Linked DNA regions of Homo sapiens: all the other regions are linked to region 2. Evidence: promoter capture Hi-C in human tissues and cell types (Jung and others, 2019). All regions are on one chromosome and are shown on one strand. The core of a region is centred on a gene start or on the middle of the fragment in contact, and the rest is flanking DNA. Distances in the headings are between cores, read along the strand shown. Region 1 has its middle 63 kb from the start of CEP44. Region 2 holds the start of HPGD (15-hydroxyprostaglandin dehydrogenase). Region 3 overlaps LOC105377547 (a long non-coding RNA gene). Region 4 overlaps GLRA3 (glycine receptor alpha 3). Region 5 overlaps LOC105377547 (a long non-coding RNA gene). Region 6 overlaps GLRA3 (glycine receptor alpha 3).

Region 1 (4,055 bases), core at 426-2,925, 180 kb before region 2:
CCAGAGTTCAAGCAATTCTCCTGCCTCAGCCTCCTGAGTAGCTGGGATTACAGGAACTCGCCACTACGCTCAGCTAATTTTTTGTATTTTTAGTAGAGACAGGGTTTCACCATGTTGGCCAGGATGGCCTTGAACTCCTGACCTTGTGACCTGCCCGTCTTGGCCTCCCAAAGTGCTGGGATTATAGGCATGAGCCACCACGCCCAGCCTTTGTGCCAGTTTTCAAAGGGAATGCTTCCAGCTTTTGCCCATTCAGTATGATATTGGCTATGGGTTTGTCATAAATAGCTCTTATTATTTTGAGATATGTTCGATCAATACCTAGTTTATTGAGTGTTTTTAGCATGAAAGGGTGTTGAAGGCCTTTTCTACATCTACTGAGAGACTTATGTGGTTTTTGTCATTGGTTCTGTTTATGTGATGGCTTACGTTTATTCATTTGTGTATGTTGAACCAGCCTTGCATCCCAGGGATGAAGCCAACTTGATCATGGTGGATAAGCTTTTTGATGTAATGCTGGATTCAGTTTGCCAGTATTTTATTGAGCATTTTCGCATTGATGTTCATCAGGGATATTGGCCTAAAACTTTCTTTTTGTTGTTGTTGTGTCTCTGCCAGGTTTTGGTATCAGGATGATGCTGGAGTCATAAAATAAGTTAGGGAGGAGTCCCTCTTTGTTTCTATTGTTTGGAATAGTTTCAGAAGGAGTGGTACCAGCTCCTCTTTGAATTTGGCTGTGAATCTGTCTAGACATGGGCTTTTTTTGGTTGGTAGGCTATTAATTACTGGCTCAATTTCAGAACTTGTTGCTGGTGTATTCAGGGATTTGACTTCTTCCTTGTTTAGTCTTGGGAGGTTGGGATGGTGTTTATGTGTCCAGGAATTTACCATTTCTTCTAGATTTTCTAGTTTTTTTGTGTAGAGGTGTTTAAAGTATTCTCTGATGGTAGTTTGTATTTCTGTGGAATCAGTGGTGATATCCCCTTTATCATTTCTATTGTGTCTATTTGATTCTTCTCTCTTTTCTTCTTTATTAGTCTGGCTAGTGGTCTATTTTGTTAATCTTCTCAAAAAACCACTCCTGGATTCATTGATTTTTTTTGAAGGGTTTTTCATGTCTCTATCTCTGTCAGTTCTGCTCTGATCTTAGTTAGTTCTTTTCTTCTGCTAGCTTTTGAATTTGTTTGCTCTTGCTTCTCTAGTTATTTTAATTGTGATGTTAGGGTGTCAATTTTAGATCGTTCCTGCTTTCTCATATGGACATTTAGTGCTATAAATTCCCCCTAAACACTGCTTTAGCTGTGTCCCAGAGATTCTGGTATGTTGTGTCTTTGTTCTCATTGGTTTCATAGAACTTATTTATTTCTGCCTTAGTTTCATTATTTATCCAGTAGGCATTCAGGAGCAGGTTGTTCAGTTTCCATGTAGTTGTCTGGTTTTGAGTGAGTTTCTTAATCCTGAGTTCTAATTTGATTGCACTGTGGTCTGAGAGACAGTTATAATTTCTGTTCTTTTACATTTGCTGAGGAGTGTTTTACTTCCAATTATGTGGCCAATTTTAGAGTAAGTGTGATGTGCTGCTGAGAAGAATGTATATTCTGTTGATTTGGGGTGGAGAGTTCTATAGATGTCTGTAAGGTCCACTTGGTGCAGAGCTGAGTTCAAGTTCTGAATATCTTTGTTAATTTTCTGTCTCGTTGATCTGTCTAATAATGACAGTGGGGCATTAAAGTCTCCCACTGTTATTGTGTGGGAGTCTAAGTCTCTTTGTAGGTCTCTAAGAACTTGCTTTATAAACCTGGGTGCTCCTGTATTGGGTGCATACATACTTACGATAGTTAGCTTTTCTTGTTGCATTGATCCCTTTACCATTATGTAATGCCCTTCTTTGTCTTTTTTGATCTTTGTTGGTTTGAAGTCTGTTTTATCAGAGACTAGGATTGCAACCCCTCCTTTTTTTTTGCTTTCCATTTGCTTGGTAAATATTCCTCCATCCCTTTCTTTTAAGCCTATGTGTGTCTTTGCATGTGGCATGGGTCTCCTGAATACAGCACACCAATGGGTCTTGACTCTTTATCCAATTTGCCAGTCTGTGTCTTTTAACTGGGGCATTTAGCCCTTTTACATTTAAGGTTCATATTGTTATGTGTGAATTTGATCCTGTTATTTTGATGCTAGCTTGTTATTTTGCTCATTAGTTGATGCAGTTTCTCCATAGTGTTGTTTTTCTTTATATTTTGGTATGTGTTTTGGAGTGGCTGGTACCAGTTTTTCCTTTCCATATTTAGTGCTTCCTTCAGGAGCTCTTATAAGGCAGGCCTGGTGGTAACAAAAATCCCTCAGCATTTGCTTGTCTGTAAAGGGTTTTATTTCTCCTTCACTTATGAAGCTTAGTTGGGCTGAATATGAAATTCTGGGTTGAAAATTCTTTTCTTTAAAAATGTTGAATATTGGCCCCCACTCTCTTCTGGCTTGTAGGGTTTCTCCAGAGAGATCCGCTATTAGTCTGATGGGCTTCCCTTTGTGGGTAACCTGACCTTTCTCTATGGCTGCCCTTAACATTTGTTCCTTCATTTCAACCTTGGTGAATCTGATGATTATGTGTCTTGGGGTTCCTCTTCTTGAGGAGTATCTTAGTTGTGTTCTCTGTATTTCCGGAAATTGGATGTTGGCCTGTCTTACTAGGTTGGGGAAGTTCTCCTGGATAATATCCTGAAGTGTGTTTTCCAACTTGGTTCCATTCTCCTCATCACTTTCAGGTACACCAATCAATCGTAGGTTTGGTCTTTTCATATAGTCCAATATTTCTTGGAGGCTTTGTTCCTTCCTTTCATTCTTTTTTTCTCTAATCTTGTCTTCATGCTTTATTTTATTAAGTTGATCTTCAATCCCTGATACCCTTTCTTCCACTTGATTGATTCGGCTATTGATACTTGTGTATGCTTCATGAAGTTCACGTGCTGTGTTTTTCAGCTCCATCAGGTCATTTATGTTCTTCTCTAAACTAAGTGTTCCAGTTAGCAGTTCCTGTAACCTTTTATTAAGGTTCTTAGCTTCCTTGCATTAGGTTAGAACATGTTCCTTTAGCTCGGAGGAGTTTGTTATTACCCACCTTCTGAAGCCTACTTCTGTCAATTTGTCAAACTCATTCTCCATTCAGTTTTGTTCCCTTGCTGGTGAGGAGTTGTGATCCTCTGGAGGAGAAGAGGCATTCTGTTTTTTTGAATTTTCAGCATTTTTGCGCTGCTTTTTCCTTGTCTTCTTGGATTTACCTATTTTTGATCTTTGATGCTGATGACCTTTGGATGCGGTTTTTGCATGGGCATCCTTTTTGTTGATGTTGATGTTATTGCTTTCTGTTTGTTAGTTTTCCTTCTATAGTCAGGCCCCTCTTCTGTAGGTCTGCTGGAGTTTGCTGAAGGTCCACTACAGACCCTGTTTGCCTGGGTATCACCAGTAGAGGCTGCAGAATGCAAAGATTGCTGGCTGCTCCTTCCTCTGGAGGTTTCATCCCAGAGGGGCACCTGCCAGATGCCAGCTGGAGCTCTCCTGTATGAGGTATCTGTTGACCCCTGCTGGGAGGAGGTGTCTCCCAGTGAGGAGGCACGAGGGTCAGGGACCCACTTGAGAAGGCAGTCTGTCCCTTAGCAGAGCTCAGGCACTGTGCTGGGAGATCCGCTGCTGTCTTCAGAGCTGGCAGGCAGGAACATTTAAGTCTGCTGAAGCTGTGCACACAGCTGCCCCTTATCCCAGGTGCTCTGTCCCAGGGAGATGGGAGTTTTATCTATCAGCCCCTGACTGGGGATGCTGCCTTTCTTTCAGACATGCCCTGCCCAGAGGGGAGGAATCTAGAGAGCCAGCTGACATATTTTTTATCCTCATGCCTACTTATGATCTTGCTTGATTGGTGATATCTAATTTTGAGAATTTTGAAAAAAAAAAATTGAATATTTCTTTTACACGTGCATTTGCCTTGAAACATGATAAAAGTCCCACTTATCCTCAAACAGAAACCACCAATTTCTTTTGATCCAACCATTATATCAAGTTCCTGT
Region 2 (2,500 bases), core at 1-2,500:
AACAGCTTTATAATCAAAGCTGTTTATTGTGTATGCCAATATTGTCCCTGATACTTCACAAGTAGATTGGTCTATTTTAAGTGAGTAGCCGGAAACAGGAAAGCATTGAGGAAAGGCTGATAGAGATGTTTCTACTACAATTCTAACATTGTATACTTTATTATGATTACTATTATTATTATTTTAAAGTACTGTCTCATTGGGGAAAAAGCCGGAGAAAACATATGGTCAAAAGCATCTAGCACTTCTGTGATGATGCTCCTTGAACTTGTATTCTGATATGTTTAAACGAAAAACACTGCCACATTTGATTGTCATTGGACTCCAGCTTTCTGGGAGAAGTTGTTTGTCAACAGTACCTTACTTAACCTACTTTAATTTTCCAAGTTTTGTCTGCAATTTCAATCATTTAATAATTACTGCAGCAGCACTGTCTTTGAATACATAAAGGAATTTTGATTACATTAATGCTGCCAAATGACTACAATAAAAGGATTTCTCCAGCAGTCTTGCCTTTCTTTCGGTTTTACAGCTATTGGGCTGTCAGAAGGAAACGTATCAGTCCAAACTGTCTTTTGGAGCTTCAAGGTAGCTGCTCTCGAGGAGGCAGCGGAGGCGGCACCCAGGGCCCCCTGGCCGGGCTGCCTTCAGGTTGTTGCTTGTTGAGAGCACGTTCCCAGTTGACAGATTGATTCCCCTGTCTTACCTCTCAGTTGTTGCTGGTCAGCCACATCGCACTGGATGAACAGAGTCTTCTGAGGTTCAAACTGCTCATCCAGGGCAGCTTTACACTGTACACCTGCTTCAAGATTCCAATCCACCAGCGCTACCTATAGACAAGAGGAGAGGAATCGCGGGCCTGCGCAGCTCACGAAATAGACGGACAAACAATAAACACACAAGAGGCTCCCCTCCTGGACCTGAAATTTGGCAATTAGGTTTGGGTTCCCTCCCAGCCACTTCTGAGGTGTGCTCACAGCCTCAGCTTCAGCAAATTTTGGAAGTGGCAAAGTGGGCACGCCGGGCGCGGCCTCCCTGTCTCCGCCAGTGCACCTCGGGCGGCGGGGCGAGTCTCGGAGTGTGTGGGCAGAGAAATTTCCGCGGCTGGGCGCCGGGCTTACCTTGGCGCCCTTAAGCAGCAGCGCCTCTGCAAAGGCTCTGCCTATGCCCTGAGCCGCGCCGGTCACCAGCGCCACTTTGCCGTTCACGTGCATGGTGCAGCCACTGCTGGGGCGGGCGGTGGGCGAGCTCCGCGTCTCCGCGCGGCCGCGGCTTTTATGCCCCCCTGCGCGCGCGCGCGTGCAGCCCGGCGGGGCGCTCCCCTGCCAGTGGGCGGGGAGGAAACTGTCAAGCCAGCGCCCGCCGGGGAACCCACGACTGTGTCACCTGCCCCCTGAGCGTTCTGGAGCGCCAAGCTTCGCGATCTTTGCCTTCCGGACTCGCAGACCGGCTCAAAGCCTCCCCTCAGCCTCTGGCTCCGTGATTGGCAGGCAGCTGACAGAAGAAAAGTTAAAAGGTTATTTCTGAAGAAGAGTTTCCTTCAGTGCCCTAAAGACCAACTGGATAGAAGGAGAGCGGAGCAGAGGCTTGGAAGCTTGGATCCCTCCTCCTGCACTCCCTCCCGGCCCCGACTCCGGAACAAAACAAGCAAACAATAAAGCAAACTTGTTGCTCTTTTGTCTCAAAGTTTTGTGTGAGTTCCCATCTCGTAATCAGTGGGGTTGAGGGTGACGGGGAGCAGAAGTAACTAATATCATTGTGTTTTCTTAGTTACATTTTGGACAAATTTTTACGGATACTGGAGATGAGAAGTGGACTCTGCTCTGTCCTGAAAACCTGGAATCATAACATTTCATGGCTAGGACTAGAGTGTCCTTGGCGCTGTGTTTCTGGTCAGTGTCAATTGTGTGTCATATTGAGATGCCCCCACAAAAACTGTCATCATCAACAGGCGCTCCAGAGCCGCTGGTAGCCTACCAAATTGTTGGCTCAATGGAATGCTTACTTGTTGAAATACACCAACTTTGGAAGCTCTGAGTCAAGTTTGGGACAGAGGTTCCTTGCTCTCCAGGAACTCCAGGGCTAGCTGTATGCGGACTTGCATAAATAACAAGGGCTATTCCACTGACTTTGTCTCTTTTTCTCAGGTTGTCAGCGGCAGGCTGCAATTTTAATTCTGTAAACGTAAGTGGTTGGCTTTTTTTTTTTTTTTTTTTTTTTAATCTTGAGACAAGATCTCGCTCTGTCTGTTTGGCTAGAATGCAGTGGCATAATCCCAGCTCGCTGCAACCTCAATCTCCAGGGCTCAAGCGACCCTCCCACCTTGGACTCCCAAAGAGTGCTAAGATTACAGGCATGAGCCACTATGCCCAGCTGGCATTTATTTTCTTAAAGAAAAAAAAAATCTAAATACTTGGGGGAAATGGGAGTTGAGCAAAAGACTGACACTAACAGCAGAATGAATCATTTTTATATCTTCTTTACCTTCTTTACTGGGAAA
Region 3 (3,646 bases), core at 705-3,204, 160 kb before region 2:
GATGCAACTGGAGGCCATTATCTTAAGCAAATTAAGCAGGAACAGAGAACCAAATACCACGGCCTCACTCGTAAGTGGGAGCTAAACGTTGGGTACTCGTGGATGTAAAGATGGGAACAATAGAAACTGGAGACTACTGGAGGGAGCAGAGAGGGAGATACATAAGCATTGAAAAATTATTGGGTACTATACTCAGTATTTGGGTGACGGGATCATTCATACCCCAAACCTAAGCATCTTAGAATATAACTAGGTAACAAACTTGTATATATACCCCTGAATCTAAAATAAAAGTTGAAAAAAATACGAATTAGACTTATATTCATAATTGATAAGTAACCACCGTGCTTTAAGCTTCCATACAGAATTTTCTTTGCTGGTAATAGTTTCTTATATATGCTAATTAAGTTGGTAAAACTCTGCTATTCTTCCATAGAATATTTGCCTAATCTGTGTTTCTTTCTCTTAAAATATCAAATAAACTTAATTTTCATGGGTTTGCTAAATATTTTTGCTCTGTCTTTAAGAGTTAGGTCAACCGAGTTGTTGGTGTTGAAATTCTCCAGCATTCAAACTATGGTTGGTCATTATGGAGACTGAAACTGTTTAGTCTCATATGCCTCTGGTAGCAATAGTTTCTCTCCCATCTCTATTTTGCATGTTCTGATTTTGCTTGTAGACTATAAAATGCAATCTAGCATAAGGACTGCCTTTATTGCTTTTTAATCCTAGCATCTAACATAGCATGTTTTGCAGATGCTCCTCAATTTACAATGAGACTGTCACAATAAACCCATCATAAGTTGGAAATACTATAAGTCAGAATACATTTAATGTAGCTAACCTACTAGACATCATAGCTTAGCCTAGCCTACCTTAAACATGCTCAGAACATTTACATTAGCCTACAGTTGGGCAAAATCATCTAACACAAAGCCTGTTTTACAATAAAGTGTTGAATATCTCACGTAATTTATTGACTATATTACACTGTGTAGTATAGTACTGGTTTACCCTCATTATCACCTGGCTGACTCAGGGCTATGGCTCACTGCCATTGCTCAGCATCTAGAGAGTGTCATACTGCATATCACTAGCCTGGGAAAAGATCAAAAGTCAAAATTTCAACTCTGGTTTCTACTGAATGTGTATCGCTTTTGCACCACTGTAAAGTCAAAAAATCATAAGTTGAACCATCCTGTCTGGGACTGTCTGTATACATCTTTGAGCTCCACAAATATATGATATTAATAATGGTACAATATTGTAAGTAATATTTTAAATTTTAGAAGAGTAGTACTTACTAGAGGAGTATTTCCTGTGTAACTGAGCACTGTGATAAATCCACCTAATACTTTAGCTCACTTGTTCCTCATAACAATCCTATTTTACAGATGAGGAAATGCACTTAGACTAGGAAACTTGCCCAAGGCTTAGGATAAATATATTTCATCTTAAAAGATAGGTGTGATTCGAGCTGTCACTGGCATTATCAGACTTTTTATATCAGATTTTATTGATGATAGATGACATAAATTGGGTTCTTAATATGTTAAGCATTGTTCTGTTAATTAACTTATCTTCACAGCAACATAAAGAGGGAGGTAGATTATTACTTGTATTTTGGAGATGAAAAATGCCGACATTGAGGGGTTTAGTAGCCAGGCCTCAGAGGTCCTGTAGCTAGCTGCTAAAATACCTTGCCAGGATTTAAATCATGGAAGTCTCTTCAATGGTATGGCTCTCTGCTGATTTGTTATACAGCCGTTTATTTAAAATTAGGTTTTAACCCAGCACATGATATGAAGATTATTTAAGATTTCATTTCCCATTTTGAATAATTTTCTGTGTTTTACTAGCCAAAGACATTTAATGTTAGTTTTCATTTTGATAAAATTATCTCATCAATATTTTTACATTACTGTCATCAAAAGGCTGTTGTTGAGATTAATCATGCAATGTGTTTAACTAGAAGATGAAATAAAAGTCACATGTTACACACAAACACACTCAACTGATTTTTAACAAAGGTACAGAAACAATTCCAGGGAGGAAGGATTTTCTTTTCAACAAATGGTGCTGGAGCAATTGGACATTCTAAAAAATGCACCTTGACTAAAACCTCATACTTTATTGAAAAATTAACTTAAAATAGATCATAGGCTTAATGATAAAATATAAGAATATAAAACATTTAGAAAAAAATCAAATAGAGAATATCTTCAGGACTTAGAGCTAGGCAAAGAGTTCTTATTGATTACACCCAAAACATGATATGTAGAAAAAGTTTTTTTATAAATTGGACCTTGTATTAGTCCATTTTCACACTGCTAATAAAGGCATACCTGAGACTGGGCAATTTACAAAAGAAAGAGAGGTTTAATGGACTTACAGTTCCACGTGGCTGGGGAGGCCTCACAATCATGGTGGAAGGCAAGGAGGAGCAAGTCACATCTTACATGGATGGCAACAGGCAAAGAAAAAGCTTGTGTAGGTGAACACCTCCTCATAGAACCATCAGAGATCTCATGAGACTTACTCACTCTCATGAGAACAGCATGGGAAAGACTCACCCTCATGATTCAATTATCTCCCACCAGGCCCCTCACACAACACATGGGAATTCAAGATGAGATTTGGGTGGAGACACAGCCAAACCATATCAGACCTCATCAAAATAAAGTGTTTGCTCTGTGAAAAACCCTGTTAAGAGAATGAAAAGGCAAGCTACACAGTGAGAGACAATATTTTTAAAGACCATATAGGACAAAGGGATTGTATATAGAATATATAAAGAATTCTTGAAAGTCAACAGTTTTAAAAATACAAAATGATCAAAAGACAGACACGTTTCCAAAGAGGAGTGGATGGCAAATAAGCACAGGAAAAGTGTTCAGAGTCATTTGTCATCAGGAAAATGCACATTCACACTACAGTGAGATACCACTGTAAACCTATCAGGATGGCTAACATTAAAAATAGTGGGCCGGGCATGGTGGCTCTTGCCTGCAATCCTGGCACTTTGGGAGGCCAAGGCAGGTGGATCATCAGGTCAGGAGTTCAAGACCAGCCTGGCCAGCATGGTGAAACCCTGTCTCTACTAAAAATGCAAAAATTAGCTCAGTGCAGTGGCACATGCCAGTAGTCCCAGCTACTTGGGAGGCTGAGGCAGAAGAATTGCTTGAATCCGGGAGACAGAGGTTGCAGTGAGCCGAGATCACATGCAACGGCAATCCAGCCTGGGCAACAGAGCAAAACTCCGTCTCAAAAAAAAAAAAAAAAAATTAGTGATAACACCAAATGCTGATGAGAATGCCGAGAAACTGAATATCTTTTACTTTGTGTGAATCAAAAATGACAGAACCACTCGGGAAGTAACTTGGCAGTTTTTAAATAGAAATATATGTACCATTTTTGTAACTTCATATTAATCTATAATTATTTCAAACAAAAAGTTAAATTACCTGTCAAAGTAAGATGAGAATGAGTTGTTATTGTATTCATCATTTTGTTGCAATGTTTAAAATAACATCATTGATAATGTACTCATAGTAGATATGTGTGGCTATTTTTTAAAAGTTTTTGTCTCAAGTTGCTTCATATTAAAATGTCTGAAACATTCTAGCATTTCAAGAATAAAAATTTC
Region 4 (3,678 bases), core at 1,099-3,598, 140 kb after region 2:
TTTCTTATGAATATATCTGTGTTATATTATTGTTTCTTCTATAAAAATAAGAATGTATTGACTTCCCATAAGATAAGCCTGTTTTTTCATTAGAGTTTTCATAAAGTAATATTTAATTAAATAGGTACCTTTCACTCTATAGTTTCTATAAACATTAACTGTTTAGCTACTGGAGATATAATTATGTTGGTCTCCCAGAGAAAGATTAGAGAGTCTGCTGTATAGTCTAATACCTACTTGTATCTATAAATATATATTGCAAACACTATATCTAATTATGTAATTTCCATGCAATGAAAAATTTACAGTTAAGATAATCAAATAAAAGCAAGTGGATCATGTGAAATTATCTTTCAGGGATGAAAAACAAAGGGAGAAATGGATGCTGGGAAATAAGATGTAAACTTTAGTTGCAAAGGACAATCGCTGAGTGATTATATATTATAAGAGAACGTAGCAAGTACTTTAAAATAATACCAGGTCTAGACAATCTGTTATGAGGTTGAGATTACTGCAAGAATTATTTAACATTAAGTCTCTTGCAGAGATGCTTACCTGCAGTGTACAATAGAATCATCTGGAGAACTACTTATAAATATAGTTTACCCCAGAAATTAAGTTTAGTAGACAGAACTATTTGTGTGTGACTTCTCAGGCTAAATTCTTGGCTTCAGTAGATTTCTGTTTAATTATTGCATACTATATTATGAACCCCCAAGTTAAACCACGTACAGACCCAAACTATCTATTTTAGATTGCTTTCCTAATATTTAGTCATTATACTTGGACATGTGTCTTTGTGACCTCTTTTTATTTGATAATTTCAAAGGATGCTGCTATCAAAACTAAATTGTTCACTTGCTATAAGTAACCTCAACATATTTTAACATTTAGAATGGATTCTAAAGATACACAGAAGGCACGAAGCATTTTGTTGCCTTATTTTGAGGTCTCTTGTGCAGTTGCTTTTAGAATTTGTTTGTATAAATAAATTTTCCATTTATTTTCAACTAATTTTATGCAAGCATCTGAGTGTTTCTTCTCTGGTGATTATTACAAGATATATGTGATATTTCTCTTTAACATATATTTTTAAATCATTTTGACCAATCAAATAGCTCTGTTAATAAAATGAAGGGTAATATTTAAATATCCTTTTATTGATGAGAGAAGACAAGAATAAAGTTTTTAGAAAAAGAAAATACCCTTCTTAGCTGAAGGGGGATGATATTTGCTCAGCTTTCAATACAAAAGGGGCTGTGTTTCCCCACCAAACACTGCCTTGGTAGTGCAGAATATGCTGTCTGCTTTTTACTGATGACCACATTCCTCTATTTAGAGTTAAGAAAGTCAATTTACCATATCTGAGAAACGGTAAAACTTCTCCAGTGCAAAAGCTTCTGTCTGTGGGAAGGTAAAGTGGACCAAGAGGAATTGAGAAACCAGAGAATCAATTCATATATGATTAAATATAATTACACAATTGGTTGTAATTGTATATACCATTTGAACAGACATATGTAGCAATTAATAGATTTTCACATATGCAAAGTATCTACCCCAACATACAAAACTGAACTTAAAAAACCTTTTTTCTTCATTAAATCATAATTATGTTTAATTACATTTGCTCCCTGAATATATCAAGTAGTTATCAGAAAATAATAAGATATGATTGTTTTTGCATTTCTGCATTTTCCCAGGGTACCAATCACTGGAGAAAATGAATGTTTCCCTCTTTCTATGAGCTAAAGAGGAAGGAGCATCAAATATTTTAATTTCACTTTTACATGTGGTAAAACTGAATAAAGAGGCACTTTGGTAAAAATAATTTTTTAAAAGAAGGAACCAGAATTGAGCATCTAAACTTGTTGTCTAATACTTTTTCTACTGGATATTATGATTACTGGATGTGTGGTGGATGTAGGATATGTCTGAGCTTTCACAGTTTACCCATTTGGACACCGGATGCACAATACTTCTCTTTTCTAGAATTTACAGGACATGCTTGATACATTCTAAATTGTATAAGGAGAAGGAAAAAGGTAAAGAAATGGAAAACCAAAATGACAAAAAGCAAATCATAATGATAGGGAACATGCGTATTGCTTTACTTCTAATTAATGATACTAGAAGGGAAAGTGGTCTTTATCAGTTACTAGTAACGAAGAAAGACCAGAGTGTCATCCCTGTGATACAGCATTTGTACTGTCGTTGTTCAACCGGTGCCAGTTATCATGAAAGAAAAGATGAGAAAGTAGGCGGTGGAGAGGGAGAGAGAAGAGGAAGAAAAAGAGATAAAGGCAGAATGAGGAGAAATGAGAAATGTAACAGACCAGTAGACCAGGGTGAGGTGAGGGAAGAAGATAAAGTTAATCTCCCCATCACAATATGTTTCAGTGTACAAAAGATATGCGTCTGTTTTCATAAAAATTTAATTAAATGCAAGTCTTAGCCTGTTTTTTGTTCATGTATTACTAAATCTCCCGATGCTGAATGCTGATGTTCTTTCCACGTAGCTGTTAATTGTGTGTTTATTGGAGCAGTGATGCTTTTGGGAAGGCCAATTAGAAATGATAAGTAAAGTTACTGCTTTAGAATATGTTTAATACTAAGTAGATTCAAGCACTGAGAGGTCAAAGCTTAGTGCTTTTTAAAGAAGTTTAATCAATACATAAATTGCAGTATAATTTATAAAGAAACCTTAAAAAATTGAAACCTTTAAATACTTAAAAATGCACACTATGTGAACTAGACTGTTACCATTAAGGTTTATCTTTTGACAAATATGCCAGGATATTGGATCCTTGCCACAATTACACAAAATTTTGACATTATTGTCCATTGCTTTAAAAGACCATTTGCTTTTAAAATGTCTGTTGGCACATTCACATTAGAAGTAAATGCGTGGATCTGCGGTTGATAGAGGCTCTCTCTTATAGAAAAAGAAAGGGGATTGGTCAAAACCACATGCATGTCAAGGAAGATGCCATTACAGTTCTGCATAGAGGAAGAACTTCATTTAGGGCATCCAAATCCAATTAGGGGTTTACTTCTGCAACTTCCTACGGTGTCTTCATGATGTTCTAAGTTTCCTCCTGGTTTCATCACTTATCAGATAGTAGCCAGGCAACAAAAGCACTTTATTGTGTTTCCCACAGGGTTTCAAAAGAAATGTCTTTAGCTCATGACAATATGCATCAAGAAGAGACCACAGAGATTTGCATGTATTTATCATCATGGTATTAGTAAATAAGTAATATTTGATGGAAATAATGAAATGAATTAGCTCTGACAAAGGAACATGAATAATTACATTTGATGACTTATATCAAGTGAAACTATTAGAAATGCTCTAACATTGCAAGTAAGAAATGACATAATTCATTAATTAAAATTTAAAAAGTGTTGTTCCAGGAAGCGCATTAAAAAGAACTTGATATAGGTCCCATGTCATCGGATATGCTGTTTAAAGTAGAGCTAGGTGTCATCATTTTCTCCCTAAAGCTATTTTTGACACTTTTAGTTTGGATTGGAAAAAAATGAAAGGAATATTATATCATTTCATCCCCAGTCCCAATTGCTTCTCTTTTCATCTCTATTAAATACAACAAATTCACTTTCGAGTGAAAACTGGATTCTGCCAAACCCAATACGTTTAATCACTTACCTTATTCT
Region 5 (3,994 bases), core at 155-2,654, 130 kb before region 2:
GCTGCATAGTTCCTGTTTCTTCATTCCCTTTTCTATGTTAAGAAAAGGAGACAGAGAGAGAGAGAGAGAGAGAGAGAGAATGAGGGAGAAAAAGGGGAGAGGCAGAAAGAGAAAGAGAGGCACTGATTGGCTTGGCCCAGGAAATACTCAAGCAGATAATTTTTGGTTATTTCATCTTTTAGATCCCTGTGTCTTTGACTCTTAGAGGATCAGTTGGAGCAAACAATTTAGAAAGTGAACCCACTAAGAAATAAGCTTTAGGCAATGCATTTGGAGCCCATCAGAGAGTGTAACTATTTTGGTAGTAATTATAAGTGCAAAGTGGAAAACTAAAACTCACGTGTCCAGATCTGTCTCTGATTACAAGTCTGAAAGATAGAGAAAATGAGCAGTATAATTGAAAGGCAGCTGGCAAGTGCAGTTTTATTTCCAGATGACGTTGCCAGAAAGCTCCTCTGGTTTAAAAACACAGTCATAATTTTTAAAACAAATCAAACTGTTAACATTTTTTACTTCCATTTATTTATTTAAAAGATAGGAATATAATATATGTATATATGTATCAGGTATACCAACGTGTAATACAGAGGAAATTAATTAATAATATAAAATGTACCAAAGAATATAGAAAATAATACCATGAATACTCATGGCTAGACAAATACTGCCAAGGCTCTTTGTGTTTCCTCAACAATTGCTTCATGACATATATAAGCATTGCTAAATATTACGTAACAATTTTGTATATTCTTTAACTTCATATAAATACATTTTCTCTGTATGTATTTTTCTGTAACTTGATATTATATTTGTAAGAATCAACCATATTAATACCTGTAGCACTACGTCATTTGTTATAATGTCTATTTTGCTTGACATTAATGTAACTATATATAGGTATTTTGGTTTTTATAAGTTAGTATATGTTTTTCTATGTATATAAGTCACAGATTTGTATGTGCTTTTGCTTTATGTATGCCTCTTGCTACGATGTGAATGTTTGTGTCCCACCAAAATTCAAATGTTGAAACCTAATCTCCAATGCAAGAGTATTAAGAGGTAGAGACTTTGGGAGGTGATTAGATCATGAGGGCTCCACCCTCATTAATGGGACTAATTCCCTTATAAAAGAGGCTTGAGGGAGTCTGCCTGGTTTCCATGTGAGGACACCTAGAAAGCAACATCTACGAGGAATGAGCTCTAACCAGACACCAAATCTGCTGGGAGCTTTATCTTGAACTTCCCAGCTCCACAACAGTGAGCAACAAATTACTATTATTTTTTTCTTTCCAGAATAAATTAATTATGATACTACCAGGGTCAAAGTGAATTTGACTTTCAATTTTATATAATCCATCAATGACTATTCTCTTTTTAAAGTCTTGGCAGCTCTTTGGGGGATGGAAGAAGACCATGAAGCTCTAAGTGCTTCAGAGGAATGGGGTTGCCAAAACAGATGTGAGAGGCCCAGAGAGGAGGCTGGGCCAATGCTGAAGGTAAAGATCCAATTCACAGTTCCAGCTAAACTTGACCTTACCTGTAGTTTTAATAAAATAAAGTAACAACTATTTCTCCTAAGTGTTTACTATAGCCTGTGTAAGAAGCAAATATACTGTTGGCTTAGAAAATAATGGGTTATTGTTTTCCTTTTGAACAGTTTTCTTTTTCTCTTTATTTTTCTTACCTCCAAGCAGCACCAGAACAGATGAATTCAGTTTTCTGTGCATGTATTCTCTGGGGAGAGTCAGGGAGGAAATTTTTACTTTTGTAGCAGCTGGAAAGTACATGTTTCTTCATAGCAAGGAAAAGTTGTGTATGACACTTCAAAAGTGGAATCCTTGAGTTCCTGCTGGGGACCAGCATAGCAGCTGCAATGAGATCAAAGTTGCAATAGACCCCTTGCTCAGAAAAATTTAGAAAATTGAATCCCCTGGAACTAGATATTTATTGCTTTATGTAGTTTAGTTCAGGTTGTGATTTCAATGGGAATCTTCAATCAGAACTGTAATGAAGGTTTATCTTCCTTGAAATGAGATAAATCGGCCCAAATCATCCCCTACTTGCATAAACATACAATTTCAGGTAACAGTCACTGGTTGGTAATGTTTCTCTATTTTGTATCTAATGCCTGCTCTATTTGTTCTCTCCTCCTAGGGTATTATTTTGGGGCTGAGTGCAGAAATAAGAGATGCGTGCTAAAAGGTCATCGGTTTAGAACCAGCCCTAGATCTCCTGGGATCCTGCCCAGCTGAATCTTCCTCCTTGTAACATGGGCTTTGGGAATTTGTGAGAGATTTAAATAAAGTAAGAGACACTTAGGAAATGAATTCATAGGGCACTGGGGAAAATGCTGAGCATATAGGGGCAGGAACTATGGTTTGAGCAGAGAGGAACAGGAGATATGGAGATATTTATAGCAATGAGTTGCCACTCAGTTCATATCGGATGACTAAAATGAGGTGTGTCTGCCCTCTGAGTAACCTGAATGGAAGAAAGCCTTTTCACCTTTTATCTGCAGTGAGTAGGTGCTCCATAGAATGTTCAATCAAATCTGAACTGAAAGAAGCATTTTAAATTCACACTTCAAGAGATCACAGAACAAACAGAAATTAGCAAGAGATTTTAATTTCAATTTTCTACTTGTGATAGTCTGGTAAGAAAAAACTATAAAATAAAATAACAACCTATATTCTAGTTAGTCTCAAGCAGAATTTTTGGGGCTTGCTATTGAAAGTTCTATGTAATCATTCTTTATATTAAAAGTATATTTGCCTAGGCTCGGTGGCTCACGACTGTAATCCCAGTGCTTTGAGAGGTCAAGGCAGGTGGGTGGCTTGAGCCCAGGAGTGCGAAACCAACCTGGGCAACAGGGCAAAACCACATCTCTACCAAAAATACAAAAATTAGCTGGGCATTGTGGCACATACCTGTAGTTTCAGTTGCCTGGGAGGCTGAGGTGGGAGGCTGAGGTGAGCCCAGGAGGTCGAGGCTGCAGTGAGCAGTGACCATGCCACTGCACTCCAGTCTGGGTGACATAGTGAGACCCTGTCCCAAAATAAATAAATAAATAAATAGACAAATAAATGTATATATATTGTGTATATATATTTGTAAATATATATATTTATAAATAATTTTTATTTACAAATATTTACAAATAATTAACCCGTGGTCTGATGACCTATTCAGAAACTTGTAAGTGATGTGTTAGCCCTAGCGTTGCTATATCCCTATTTATTTTCTTCTCTTAACCTTCCACACACTGTGTTTTATTAGGATTTACTAAAGCAATGTCTTCAAAGAGGTGTTTAAGAAGGAGAGGTTGGTCGGAACCAGAAAATGCATTCCTGGGATGATCTTTGGGATACACCCAACTGACCCTCTGAAAAGGTCAGCCACATGTATTTAATAATTATACTATATCACCAAACTCCAAAGTCAGGGTGGAACTTATCTACCAAATCTCAGCCTTCCAAGCCAACAGAGTTACTTTCTGATCCCTACTATATATCACACTAGAAAATAAGTATGTAGACCTTATTATCAAAGTGGCTATGCATGCTCAAAACACAAACGAGTTTAAAATGATTTATAATTGTTGAAGCATAAATTTGAGATAATGCTGTCTGTTTTTGAAGGGCTTATGAACTTAGAATTGTTTTTAGATTTTTTAATGGTTAAGAAGAAAAGAATAACATTTCATGACACATGAAAAGTATTTGAAATTCAAATTTCAGTGTCAATAAAGTTTGATTGATGACAGTCACACTCATTCATTTATGAATTGTCTATGGCTGCTTTGTACTACAATGGCAGGATTGTGTACTTTTAACACAGCCTAAAATTTCCAGTATATGGCCTTTTAAAGAAAAAAGTTTGATATTCCTTACTTTATGCCCTTGTCAAGTAGAATCAGTAGAATCCAGGGTCTCCATGGGTCAGATCCAGGTATGGCTATCCCCTGTTCTTTCTTTTGTATAGCAATGTATATAAA
Region 6 (3,967 bases), core at 173-2,672, 200 kb after region 2:
TCCCCTTACATCTGTCTTATAATTTTTGCTTGAACTGTCAAATATAATTTAGGAAACTCAAAATGAGAAGGAAAGTCTATTGTATTCACTCATATTTTTGCTTCCTGTGTCCTTTTTTCCTTCTTGATATTCGTATGCTTCTTCTTTTATCATTTTCTTTTTTTTAGAAAGCTTCTTTGACCATACTTTCCAGGCAGATTTACTTGTGATTAATTCTCTATTTTCCTTTATCCAAGAATGTTTTGATTTCCCCTTTATTCCCGAAGGATATATTCCCTGGGTACAAGATTCTCAGATGAGAGTTCCTTCCTTTCAGCACCTAAAAAAATATTTGTAGCTTCTTTCTGGCTTCAGTGACGTCTAGAAAAATCTACTCTCATTCTCATTGTTTTTCCTGCATAAGATATCACTATTTTCTGGATGCTTTCAGGATTTGTATTTAGTTTTCAGAAGTTTATGCATTATGTGTCTTCATATGGACATCTTTGGATTTATCTTGTTTGGGAACTCAACTTCTTGAATCTGCAGGCTCACGCCATTTGCAAAATGTATTAACATTTCAGCCATTGTTTTCTCTAGTTTTTTTTAGCTTCATACCCTTTCCCCCTCTATCTGACACTCTGATGACATGAATGTTAGATCATTTGTTGTAATCTCACAGATCCCTGAGGCTGTTTCCCAGGCCCCACGGCCAATCTATTCATCTCTGTTGCTCAGATTGGGTAATTTTTGTTATTCTGTTTTATGGTTCACTGATTCTCTTTTCCATCTTCTCCATTTTTTTTGGTCCACCCATACACTGAGCTTTCATTTTGATTATTGTATTTTTAGGTCTAAAATTTTGATTTGGTTTCACTTTGTAGCTTCTATTTCTTTGCTGAGGCTATTTTTCTCATTTGTTTCAAGCATATTTGTAATTGCTCACTGAAGCAAATTTATCATGGCTACTTTAAAGTCTTTGCCAGATATCTAACATTTTTGTCTTTTCTTTTGAGACAGGGACTTGCTTTTTTACCCAGGCTGGAGTGCAGTGGTGCGATCTGGGCTCACTGCAACCGCTGCCTCTTAGGCTCAAGAGATCCTCCCACCTTAGTCTTCCTAGTCACTGGGAACACAGGTGAACGCCACCTTGCCCAGCTAATTTTTGTGTTTTTTTGTAGAGACAGGGTTTTATCACGTTGCCTGGGCTGGTCTCAAACTCCTGGGCTCAAGCAATTTGCCTGCCTCAGCCTCCCAAAGTGCTGAGATTACAGGGTGTGAGCCACCACTCCTGGCCTCATCTTTGTCATTTGGATGTTGCTATCAGTTGATTGTCTTTTTCCAGAATTATTGAACATTTATGGTTCTTTGTATGATTTCTGGTTCTTTGTATGATGAATGTTTCTTGGTTGAAGCCTAGACATATAAATACTATTTTATTAGACTCTGGCTCTTATTTAAACTTTTTTGGTTTTCTCTGACATTGCTCTGCTTAGGCAAGGGAAGGTGTTATCTTGTGTCTGTTTCCTAACCACTCTCTATACAGGCCTGTGAGGGGAGAGGCTCCGCCTTATTGCTGGATGTCCCAGGTGTAAGCATGATGTCCACTGACACTATGGTGAGAGTGGCCTCAGAACTGCTAGGTGATGTTGAAAATATTGACTGTCCACTAAGTCTTCTCTAAAACCACCTCAGCAGAGAGGGAAGGTATGCCTTGTTTCTGCAGGGAAAGGGAGGAATTCCTGGCTTTCTATGTGGTCTTCCTGGCTCTGTGAGGTATGAAGCTCACTATAGGATGGTGGGGCATGAAAATCCAGTTCATTATTTGTCCTTTCCTGACACTATCTTGAGTTAGGTGTGATGGTACCTCAATACCACCTGGTAAGACTGGAAGTCTGGGCTCCCCATTTGGGCTTTGCTGTCTTAAGGGGGATTGCATTTCTTCCTGTGGTGTTGGGCTGGAGTAGAGCAGTTGTCTAAAGCTTTTCTGTCTTGCTAGGCTTCCCCTTTCCTAACCTCTAGGGAATATTAGATTTGCTAGAGAAATTAGGCTTTTGTTGGGACTTTGATTTTTGTCTGTACCTGCTGATGTTGCCATGTTGCCAGTTTCTTCATCTTCAAGTCTAGGATGTACGAAGCAAAAGGAAAATTCTGGGAATTCACCTCCACGTTGTTCCTCAGGTTCCAAGGTACACAGCCAGCCTGTGCTTATATCCACCACTGGGCATCTCCCTAAGTTTGTTATACATACTGTGTCCAGGTTTTTTAGTTGTACTTAGCAGGTAGAATAGAAAAAAGTATGTCTGTTCCATCTTCCCCGAAGTGAGATTCTTGCTATCTTTTGATATTTAGTGGTGGGGCGGGGTTGGGGGAGGGGTGGACTTTTGGTAATTTTTTTAAAAGGTGCAAAATTATCTTGCATAGACCTGGAATTCACCATTAATTTACTCATCCATATGGGAGTATAGGGCTTATTAGTGGTGGAACCTGAAATCTTCCTTTGTGCCATATGTAGCAGTTAATCACTTAAGATTATATTAGTACATATTAGTTGTTTCTCAGAATTCTGATGAAAGGGTCAATTCACAATAGAGTGATGTCACCCTGTCACTTTTAGAAATCAATAAATCTATGGAAAAGAAATCTGTTCTCATGAACTAGGTAAATGTGAAAAGCAGACATAATGTATTGGGATGCAGAGATGAAGAGCAGACATGGGATAAAGCATTATTTATAAAACCACTTTGCAGAAAAAAACATTTTCAAAATCACTAAGCTATTAAGATTACATTTTAGAATCCTACTATTTTATCCCTGATATTGGGCATATGAACTCCAAATCAAATACCCCCATTCCTGATGAGAAGGAAAGTTTACAAAAGAGAAGATAAGAGAGAGATAAAACAGAATGAATTAATTTTAAGCCTAAGACCTCAATATTAAGCCTACCTTGATACCTTTTAAAACATGATACTGGTGAAAAAAGTATTTAAATATTTGGCTCTTGCTAGAAGTATAACATATTCTCCCTCTTCTAAGAGACATGACATGAATTCTGTTCTTACGTCCTGTTCTTCACAACTAAACTAAATTAGAAAAACAATTATGGAAAATTTTTAAATAATCACTATTTTAGAAGATTTTTTCAGATGTGACAAAGATCATCAAATATATCATGTAAGTAGCTATTTACTGACTCTACATTTGTTTCATATTTAATGAACTGCCAAAGTTAAGTGAATCCTAGAGTTCAACTGTCAAAAATTTTTATTAGTGTTTATTGTTTGGTATTAATTATTATTCAATATTGGGTTTTTTTTAATGCTATACACTTTTCTGATAAGTCAATAATTAGGAACATAAATGTAAATAAGGTCTTTTCCAGGGATTGTGATTAAGGTTTTGTCATCCATTTTCACATAATACAGTGATTTTTTTTCTTCCCTGCCTTGTTCAAAGTTTATTAACAAATCATCACTTTGCAGCATGTTAGAAAGGATGAAACTTGAACAGTTAGGGCAAAAATGCAAAAGAATGACCAGAGAAGCTCAAGGATATTTTTAAAAAACAACACATATACCTGAAAAATAATCTATGTAGAATGTATCTCAGATGAGAAACCTAAACATTTCTTAACCTGTAAATATTTAAAGAAGACATATATACATAAAAGTATTATCACAATGCATGATTCAGCTGCCTTTCACTTTGCCTTTAAGATTCCTGACAACCTGGCTGATATTAAGAATCACCAGGGACATTTGTTTAAAAAGTGGATTTCCAAGAATTACTTATATAGTTCCTGAATCTGGAACTTGGGTCTGTTATTATTGATCAGACATATTTGGGAAACAGTCTATTAGAGGAACTGAAGTGCAACAATGATAGCACTTGTTCAAAAATGTCAAAACTTTCACCAAACAAACCAACCAACAATACACCATGATATTCTATTTCACTGAAATCGGCAATTTAAGTCCACGACTCA

The links. Contacts are between HindIII fragments. The study calls those that stand out against the background at their distance.
Region 1: a contact is called between a fragment that was not itself captured here and the fragment with the promoter of HPGD in region 2, in 1 of the 25 tissues and cell types used here (H1 embryonic stem cells).
Region 3: a fragment that was not itself captured here is called in contact with the fragment with the promoter of HPGD in region 2 in 10 of the 25 tissues and cell types used here (bladder, heart right ventricle, lymphoblastoid cells and 7 more).
Region 4: a contact is called between a fragment that was not itself captured here and the fragment with the promoter of HPGD in region 2, in 5 of the 25 tissues and cell types used here (dorsolateral prefrontal cortex, heart left ventricle, heart right ventricle and 2 more).
Region 5: a fragment that was not itself captured here is called in contact with the fragment with the promoter of HPGD in region 2 in 1 of the 25 tissues and cell types used here (mesendoderm cells).
Region 6: a contact is called between a fragment that was not itself captured here and the fragment with the promoter of HPGD in region 2, in 2 of the 25 tissues and cell types used here (lymphoblastoid cells and stomach).

The regions. Positions count from the first base shown.
Region 1 is chr4:174,344,478-174,348,532 of GRCh38, forward strand. No RefSeq gene overlaps it. Among named protein-coding and RNA genes, the nearest start is that of CEP44, 63 kb to the left of the region's middle. The HindIII fragment of the contact is 4,488 bases long and covers 1-3,919 here.
Region 2 is chr4:174,521,238-174,523,737 of GRCh38, forward strand. HPGD (15-hydroxyprostaglandin dehydrogenase) reads right to left here and starts at 1,251. Exons shown (of 7, transcript NM_000860.6): 1 at 1,122-1,251; 2 at 707-830. The coding sequence starts at 1,214. LOC105377548 (a long non-coding RNA gene) reads left to right here and starts at 1,376. Exons shown (of 7, transcript XR_007058492.1): 1 at 1,376-1,892; 2 at 2,148-2,184. The HindIII fragment of the contact is 5,489 bases long and covers 1-2,500 here.
Region 3 is chr4:174,361,495-174,365,140 of GRCh38, forward strand. The region is part of intron 2 of LOC105377547 (a long non-coding RNA gene); the gene reads left to right. Among named protein-coding and RNA genes, the nearest start is that of MIR4276, 60 kb to the right of the region's middle. The HindIII fragment of the contact is 6,822 bases long and covers 1-3,646 here.
Region 4 is chr4:174,655,384-174,659,061 of GRCh38, forward strand. It overlaps GLRA3 (glycine receptor alpha 3), which reads right to left. Exons shown (of 10, transcript NM_006529.4): 8 at 3,671-3,678; 9 at 1,360-1,404. Among named protein-coding and RNA genes, the nearest start is that of HPGD, 130 kb to the left of the region's middle. The HindIII fragment of the contact is 6,620 bases long and covers 1-3,678 here.
Region 5 is chr4:174,387,197-174,391,190 of GRCh38, forward strand. LOC105377547 (a long non-coding RNA gene) reads left to right here. Exons shown (of 7, transcript XR_001741920.1): 3 at 1,381-1,496; 4 at 2,155-2,304; 5 at 3,277-3,390. Among named protein-coding and RNA genes, the nearest start is that of MIR4276, 35 kb to the right of the region's middle. The HindIII fragment of the contact is 4,777 bases long and covers 1-3,793 here.
Region 6 is chr4:174,724,507-174,728,473 of GRCh38, forward strand. The region is part of intron 4 of GLRA3 (glycine receptor alpha 3); the gene reads right to left. Among named protein-coding and RNA genes, the nearest start is that of GLRA3, 100 kb to the right of the region's middle. The HindIII fragment of the contact is 4,814 bases long and covers 1-3,829 here.